2 separate regions of the Homo sapiens genome follow, and region 1 is linked to region 2. Evidence: promoter capture Hi-C in human tissues and cell types (Jung and others, 2019). All regions are on one chromosome and are shown on one strand. The core of a region is centred on a gene start or on the middle of the fragment in contact, and the rest is flanking DNA. Distances in the headings are between cores, read along the strand shown. Region 1 overlaps FAM3B (FAM3 metabolism regulating signaling molecule B). Region 2 holds the start of MX2 (MX dynamin like GTPase 2).

Evidence for each region. Contacts are between HindIII fragments. The study calls those that stand out against the background at their distance.
Region 1: a fragment that was not itself captured here is called in contact with the fragment with the promoter of MX2 in region 2 in 1 of the 25 tissues and cell types used here (spleen).

The regions. Positions count from the first base shown.
Region 1 is chr21:41,320,276-41,324,345 of GRCh38, forward strand. FAM3B (FAM3 metabolism regulating signaling molecule B) reads left to right here. Exons shown (of 8, transcript NM_058186.4): 2 at 2,648-2,791. Among named protein-coding and RNA genes, the nearest start is that of FAM3B, 5.5 kb to the left of the region's middle. The HindIII fragment of the contact is 6,637 bases long and covers 1-4,070 here.
Region 2 is chr21:41,359,922-41,363,995 of GRCh38, forward strand. It overlaps MX2 (MX dynamin like GTPase 2), which reads left to right and starts at 2,106. Exons shown (of 14, transcript NM_002463.2): 1 at 2,106-2,134. RefSeq lists enhancers at 1-248, 1,531-1,790, 1,811-2,650. The HindIII fragment of the contact is 34,961 bases long and covers 1-4,074 here.

The sequences.
Region 1 (4,070 bases), core at 674-3,173, 40 kb before region 2:
TCTTTTTAAAATTTTTTGTAGACATGAGGTCTCATTATGTTGCCCAGGCTGGTCTCAAACTCCTGAGATCAAGCCATCCCTCCACCTTGGCCTCCCAAAGTGCTGGGATTACAGGCGTGAGCCAACGAGCCCAGCCGAAATTTCTATTGTTGAAGCCACCCAGTTGGTGTTAATTTGTTACAGCAGCCTGAGGAAATGATGCTGCCTGCCTGGATTTTGTCTGTCACCTCCTGGCTACTATGTCCTGCCCTCCCTCTAGCGGCTGGGATACTTCCATGACTTTGTGCTAGACCTGAGCACAGGCTGCTGGTTCAGCTCATCACCCATCTTCTGATGATGTCCCGATCCCAGTGCTGGCGGCTGGATCTGCCTCCCACCCAGGAGGTGGTTCAGACTCTAGATCATGGCTTCTCCCAGCCAGCTGCATGCTGCACTCCAGATTGTCCCCAGCCTAGAGGTCATTGGATGCATCCCTCACCCAAAGCACAGATACTCTCTAGTCTTCCTGGGAGTCCTGAAAAGTGTCCCGGAAGAGAGCTCCCTGCCGCATCAGGACCCGCCATGGGCTACCCTTCTTCTTGTGAGGACACTTGGCTTATTTATTCTCCGTTTTCTTCTCTGTCGTGTCCACATGTTTGTTTTTGTTCAGCTGGGGCCACCGTTACCTATTCCTTCATGTAGCTGCTTGTTACACATTCAAAAGGTAAATAATGTTCCTTTTCAGCCTTCTCCAAGCTAAACAGCAGCTTGTTGCTCAGGATCTCAGGTGTGGCGTGTTGTCTAGAAGAGCCCCTGAACATTGTCTGGTTAGCCAGTTTCCTTCTCCAAATACAACACTTGGATGAAACAGTCCAGCTACGACCCACATGCACAGAATACAGGGCACGGCCTTTTCCTTTGAACGTGTTCTGCTGCTGTCTTAGCCCACTCTGCACTCTGTTCATCCAACAGAATTTTCTGGAAAATCAGCGACCCACGCGGTGTCACAGGCATGCTGGGTGGCCCTGGAGGGAAGCATCTGTGGTGTCTGTGTGGGCGCTGTGGCTGGGCTGTGTAGGGGAGAGCACCCTCTAGGCAGAGATCACTCCTGCAGAGGAGTGAGCCCGGGAGTGCAGCGCCCGCAGGTGGCTGAGCACAACCGTTGGCGCAGCTGCGGGAGAGGGGCCTGCAAGCCTGCACCTGTCTCATTTTGTTTTCTGTGTCTGGTTTATCTGCTTTGAGATGACCTTCCAGTCCTGAAAACTGCACTGATCACACTGCCTTGGGCCTCTCCCCAGAGGAAACCACCTGTGCTTACTAGTCTAACAATCTTAGCAGTTTGGAAATTCGAAATTTAAAAATGGTGTTGAAATATGCACTCAAAAAAGCAAAACAAAACCAAACCCCAAGGCTAACCAGAAACATCGCGTTCTATCCCCATGGCTCCCTCTGCTGAAGCGCTGGGCCTCCAAGCAATAGCACACGCTGCCTTGGCGCAGCATAGCCGGTGCATGGGTCGGGGACAGCTGCGCTCCTGAGAAAGGAAGGATGATCTCTAGGTGCTGGAAGTCAAGCTGAGGTCCAGAACTGCACCCCGGGTGGGGCCCATTGTCAGGCCCTTCAGACTTGACATTCCCTTCTCTTCCTTTCCTTTTTCCTCCTTTCCTCATTTCCCCTTCACTTCCTTCCTTCTTTCCTCCCTGTCTCTCTCCCTCCTTCCCTCCTTCTCTTACTTCTTAGGACTGTCCCTATTAGCACATATTTAAATGCACTGGGCACATACCCCAGTACCCATCCTACTCAGGGCCTGTGGTTATCCCTGCATCGTAGCAATCTGGGTAAGCAAACTGCTGAATAAGTTCTGATCTATGCTATATTTAGGGAGCAAACTCTAAAAGCCCTGGCCATGGGTTGCCAATGAAAAGACAGAGAGCCACCCCCCAGGCCTCTGGTGACCCAGGAGGAGATCAATGCCTTTTCCTTGGAAATCGTGCCACTCATGTCAAACAAGAGAAGTAAGATATTGTTGCCAATCAACCAGAAAGATATCTCCACGGACTTTCTGTCACTGGGAACCTTGACTGGCCCAGCAGGCACATCCGGGATGATAGAACAGGTTTGGGGACTTTTTCCCAGTATTACGGGGCCAGGCCTTGATCCAGCAGGAATACGTTGCATGCTTGCTGGGCATCGGCTACTATTCCCAGTGCTGGTGATATGGAAATCAACAAAACAGACAGAGCTTTACCCCTGAAGGTTTCAATGTAATTGCAGGAGCGTGCTCAAATCCAGTTGTGTCTCACAAAGGGAATGAGGCGCTTTTGTTTTTTCAGGTTCACGTTGGGCATGCTGGCTCACAAGGTGCTTGATTAGCTGCTTTGACATAAACGTTCAAGGACGTTTGTTGGTTAAGTTAAGACCTAAACCAACAGCAAATACAACTTGCCCTGGAAAGCATTCCTGTCTTGTTTGTATTCTCTGATACTGTCTACTTCAAAGGTCCTGACACCGCCTCCCACCCTGGGAGCCTCCTCCCAGGAGCACAGTGCCTATAGCGCAGTCCCCTGACACTGGGCCGGGATGAAAAGCCACAGGGGGGATGGGGAGGGCCAAGGGCCAGGGCCGCCACCAAGTCGTTCACAGCAGCTGCTTGGTGTCCTCTCTGCAGGCCTGCTCAAGGTGGTGTTCGTGGTCTTCGCCTCCTTGTGTGCCTGGTATTCGGGGTACCTGCTCGCAGAGCTCATTCCAGATGCACCCCTGTCCAGTGCTGCCTATAGCATCCGCAGCATCGGGGAGAGGCCTGTCCTCAAAGGTGAGTGCCGTGCTTGGGGCAGACGGCTGCCTTCATGGCTTGTGTGCAGAGGGAGGAGTGGTGGTTTCTGTCCCAGCTGGAGGCTGGGGGGCCCTGACGGCTTTATATCAGGAAGGAGGAGGAGAGAAGCATTTTGCAGTTACTCATTTAGGTCCCACGCCATTCCAAGGCACGTGCCGCTGCTGACCCCATGTGAGACTAGAACAGTGTGGCTTCTGGTTACCAGCACAAACCTGCAGCCAGACCTTGAACTGTGCTCTTTCCGCCCAGATCTTGGCTTCCTCCCCTGGGAAGCACAGGAGGGTCCAGGTTCTGAGATCCCGAATCATTTTAAGGTTTCTGTCGGACTGAAGAGCTGTTGGAAAATCTTCTGTAAAGTCTTGGGAAGCAAAAGCTAGTAATTGAGTAGATGTGAAAGAAAGGGCAGACATTGTATGTCGGTGAACACACGGCCTCAACCATCAGCTTAGGAAAGGCCCAGCTCTCTGTAGGGCGGCTGCTTTCTGTCCTTCCCCACAATCAAGGTGGGTTTTCTGAGAGCCTGCTGTGTGCTGGGCATGTCCAGGAGCTAAGGAGAGACGGAGGACAAGCCCACGAGGTCCCTGCCCCTTTGGCACTGATACCCTAGTGAGGGGAGGTGACAGCTTAACGCATGAACAAATGAGATTCGAGAGAGGATGGGTGGGGAAAGCCTCTGAGAAGGAGGTGACAATTGAGAAGCATCTCAGTGAAGCAAGGGAGTGGGCCATGCTGGGTTCTGAGGGCTGTGTGCCAGTTTGGGAGCATCATGACTTAGTCTACCCAGATTACTGTAAGAGAACACCATAGACTGGGGGCCTTATAAACAACGCATTTATTTCTGACAGTGTTGGAGGCTGGGAAGTTCAAGATCAAGGTACCCGCAGATTTCATGTCTGGTGGAGACCTGCATTCTGCTTCATGGATGGCTCCTTCTGGCAAACGAGGTCTCTGAAGCTCCTTTTATAAGGGCACTACTCCCATTCCTGAAGGCTTCATCTGCCAAAGGCCCCACCTCCTAACACCAGCACTCTGGGGATTAGGTTCCAACATATGAATTTCAGGGGGACACATTCAGTCCACAGCACATGAGTTGCAAACTGGGGGCCCAGAGACAGACCTGTCAGAGACAAGATTTGTCTAAAAGCAAAACACATAAAATATGGACAAGTATTTCAAAATCAAGAGATCTCCCATAAAACTCCATGTTAGAGCATCTCTTGAAACAGTAGAAGCTCTGATACCCCAGGCCCTCATTCCT
Region 2 (4,074 bases), core at 856-3,355:
GTAAGCAGAAATCTCACCACTGTACTCCAGCCTGGGCAACAGAGCGAGACTCCATCTCAAGCAAACAAAAAAGAAACAAAGAGCCAGGTCACACGGACAATGACAGGGTGGAGTTCCACTCCAAGGTGCACCCGCTGCTCCTGTGCTCTGCTGGGAGGGACACACCCCAGGTAAGAACCCTGCTTGTCTACAGCACTTCACCATTGCCTTTGTCCTGTTAATTCAGGAAAGCATTTGCTTGATCTTTCCTTCTGTGATTGGAGAGGCCATGGGAGAGTGGATGCATGCTGGCTCTGGATGGCTCCAGGTGCTGCAGGTGCTTCCAGGTGGCCAGGAACTTCATCAGCACACAGAGGCGCTGGCGCTTTCCATAGAGTCAGCGTGCCAGGGCAGGAGGCGGGCACTGGGGCTTCTGGACTTCGCCTCTTTACCAAGCTGCACACTGTAACGCTCCCTGATGTGGAGCTGAGGGAAGAGCTCCGCCCAGCGGCTGTGACCGAGGCCTGAGCAGCAGCATCTTTTCTGGCCCCGGCCCCTGTGCTTGGATGCTGCGTGGGACATTCATTCACCCTCAGGGCTTTAGTGCTCAGAACGCAAGAACCCTGTCCTTGAAGTTTGCATGCGCAGGCACCTCTGGTCCTTCCCAGGGCTGCTGGTGAGGGGCGTGCAGGAGGGGGATGCTGCCTTGACAGAGGGTGGAGGGTCCCCTGAGCTGGCCCGAGCTGCTCGTGTCCCTCTGTCCGGCTTCTCTGAGGCCTTTCTTTGTGCCTTCCTTGAAGCAGTAGGCCGGCCCAGGCCCTGTTGTGAAAGACATTCCTAGTGAAACCGAATGTCACATCACGCTGCCAAGTCTGAGATTCACATTCCTCCCCTCACTCCTCAGCCTCTGTCCGCCCGGGCTCTTGGGAAGAGAAGTGGTTCAGGGATAGGTGATCCTGACGATGATCTCCTGGTGTTAATATTTCTAATGCCAAGGTTTTGAAAAACATGTTAAGTTTCTAAATATCTTCCGTAAAGTTAAGCCTGCACTCAAGGGAAGTCACTACAATGACTTAGCCAAGAGGAGCTCAGGAGTTTTTTTAAACGTATAGTGTTGATGTCTGGGAGAGGATCACGGGTGGATAGGAGAGCTGAGAGCCTGCTTCCTCCCTCCCAGCCATCACTGCCAGTCCTTGAGAGGCTTGGTCCCCTCCCCGGTGTCTGGAGGGCTCCTCCTGGAGGTTCCCAGACCTCTTGGCTCTGGTGATGGGAATGCCTGGCCCTCCTTGACTTTGGTCACAGAGCAGGAAGCCTTAGGGAGCATGCGGTTGTGCACCTTCACTTTTGCAGGTGAAAAGTAACTGAGGACCAGAAAGATGACATGCAGCTGGCTCAGGGCTGAGTTCCGGAGCCTGGGGTTTGTCCTGGGGCCTCCTTATCTCCAATGGGAAGAAAACCGTCTTGGTTTTGCGGCGGGGACCTCAGGCACGGGTGCTTGGAGAAAGCTGTTGACCCTCCTTCTTTGGGTTTTCCGCACCTAATGAGGGGAGAGGTGACATTTGTCAGGTGCGGCTCAGGCATGAAGCTAAGCAGGACAGCTCAGAGCGTCCAGATCATGTACCTGAGAGCATGTCCTCGGCTGTAACAGGAGTGCATCTGTGAGGCCCGATACACGAACCACACGTGGCTATTCATTCAAATTACATGGAGTTCGAAGTCCAGTTCCTTGGTCGCAGTAGTCACATTTCAGAGCCACACAGGTGGTACTGGATGGCACTGTCAGGGCAGAACCTTCCAGTGACTGAGCCACTCTGAGCTGCCCCCATGCCAGCCTCCCCTGGAATCTGTTAGCAATGCTGATTCTCAGGCCCAGCCCAGACCTGACAGATCAGACTCTCTGGCGGGGGTGGGGGGACAGCCGCCCCGTCTCCACAGCTCTCCCAGGATTCGGATGCAGCTGGAGTTTGGGGACCACTCTGTGAGTCATCTGGAGAGCACGCTGATAACTCAGTTTCATTTCTGTGGCCAGATCAAGTAGTTTCATTTCTCTCCCTGTTTGTTGATGACGGAGCAGGGGAGGGAGTGGTTCATATGCCACATAAAAGTGAAGTGGAGGAAAGGGAAGAGATGATTTCTCCATCCTGAACGTGCAGCGGTAAGAGCGGGGCCGGTGCAGGGAGGGCTGCTTTGTGTCTGATGCACAGCAGATGCGTGTTTAAAAAATATTTCCTGAGTAACGTGACATCTGCTTGGTGAATGTGGCTTGTGCTGGGAGGCAGGAGCCACAAAGATAAGATTCTGGTGTGAGGAGCAGAAAGGGCCCATGTTGCCACCAGCCCACAGTAGCCTTGTGCACAGACAAAGAGGCTCTGGAGGGGAAGTGGCTGGCCCTGGGGACAGGGTGGCCTCCATCCTGATCTGGCCAAAAGTCGGGTGGACGCAAAGGGGTGGTTTTTAGGACAGCTTTGCTCAGCGTCCTACAAAGTCTGGGGGTTGAGTAAGGAGCTTTGTGCCCGAAAAGTCGTCTCGGAGGGTTTCAAGTGTTCCTTCTTTTGTGGTATTTGTGATGCTCTGACGTAACCTTAGTGACGGTGATATGCTGGGAAATTGGCTCTCATGGGGCGGGGCAGGGCAGAGGGTGGTGCCTGATTTCTAGCCTTTGCCGATTCTCTTCCGTTCTCATGGTGTGAATGCTCCCACCGTGGCCAGTTCCCAGCCAGTAGGGGCCAACTCCAGCACTCTGGACCACTGCACCCTGGATCGCCTGCACTCTGGGGGCTGAAGTCCATTTTATAATTGATATAGAGCGGAAAGGAGACATGGTGGTATTGATGACGCAGTTTTTTTTTCTTTTTTTTTTTTTTTTTTTTTTTTTTGAGAGAAGTTCTCGTTCTGTTCCCCAGGCTGGAGTGCAGTGGCGTGATCATGGCTCACTGCAGTCTCAAGCTCCCGGGCTCAAGGGATCCTCCCACCTCAGCCTCCCAAGTAGCTGGGACTACAGGTGTGCACCACCACACCTGGTTAATTTTATTTCTTTTTGTAGAGACAGGGGCTCTCTATGTTGCCCAGGCTGGTCTCAAACTCACTGGCTCAAGAAGTCCTTACGCCTCAACCTCCCAAAGCACTGGGATTACAGGCGTAAGCCACCCCATTCGGCTTTGATGACACCTTTTGAACACTGTTCTTTCTCATTTTGTGTTTAGAATGTTGTCTCTAGCTGTTTAAAAAGATCAGGATTCCAAGCTATCTTTCCTCGCACCCTCTCCTCCGTTTACTCTGCTCTACTTCCCAGCCCCGCGCCAACCCCTGAAGCACTTTTGACTCCCTTCGGATGTACAATTTTTTTTTCTTTTTCTTTTTTGAGACAGGGTCTTCCTGCTCTGTTTCCCAGGCTGGAGTGCAATGGTACCATCATAGCTCACTGCAGCCTTAAACTTCCGGGCTCAAGTGATCCTCCTGCCTCGGCCTCCCAATGCATTGGGATTACAGGTGTGAGTCCCTGCGTCTGGCCAGGATGTATGTGAGCTTTATTTAGGTTTAGCCCCTGCCCTAGAATGCAAGCTCCCCCAGAGATCTTTGTCTGCCTGACTCGATATGTATCTCAAGGACTTAGTGCTCAATATATATCTTTGAGTGGGTGAAAAACAAGCGGTCTTAAAAAGAAAGGAGGTGAGCCCGGGGAGATAAGGTCGCATTCAGTGCCAGTGCTTGGTCAGCCATGACCCTGCACCATGCGAGTGACATTGGGACTGGAGCAAAGGGACACAGCAGAGTGGCCCCTGGTGCCCAGGACCCGGCAGAGCTCTCGGACTGGTTGCAAGCCAGCAATAGTGGCTATGCCCGTGTGGGAGACGCAGCTTGCCTTAGACTTCAGCGGGAACCACCATGTCCGGCACAGCCATTTCCATCCTTCCCAGGGGTGCTTACGTGATCCTGGCAGTCTCAGTCAAACTTCCAAACTCAGCAGGGAATGTGTGTGCTTGTCCTCCAATCTCAACACCCTGGGATGCAGTGTCAGGTGCAGGTCAGAGACAGCAGTGGAGACCCGATTCCCAGCCCTGGGCTGGGGCCCCCACAAGGCCTCCAGCATCTCCC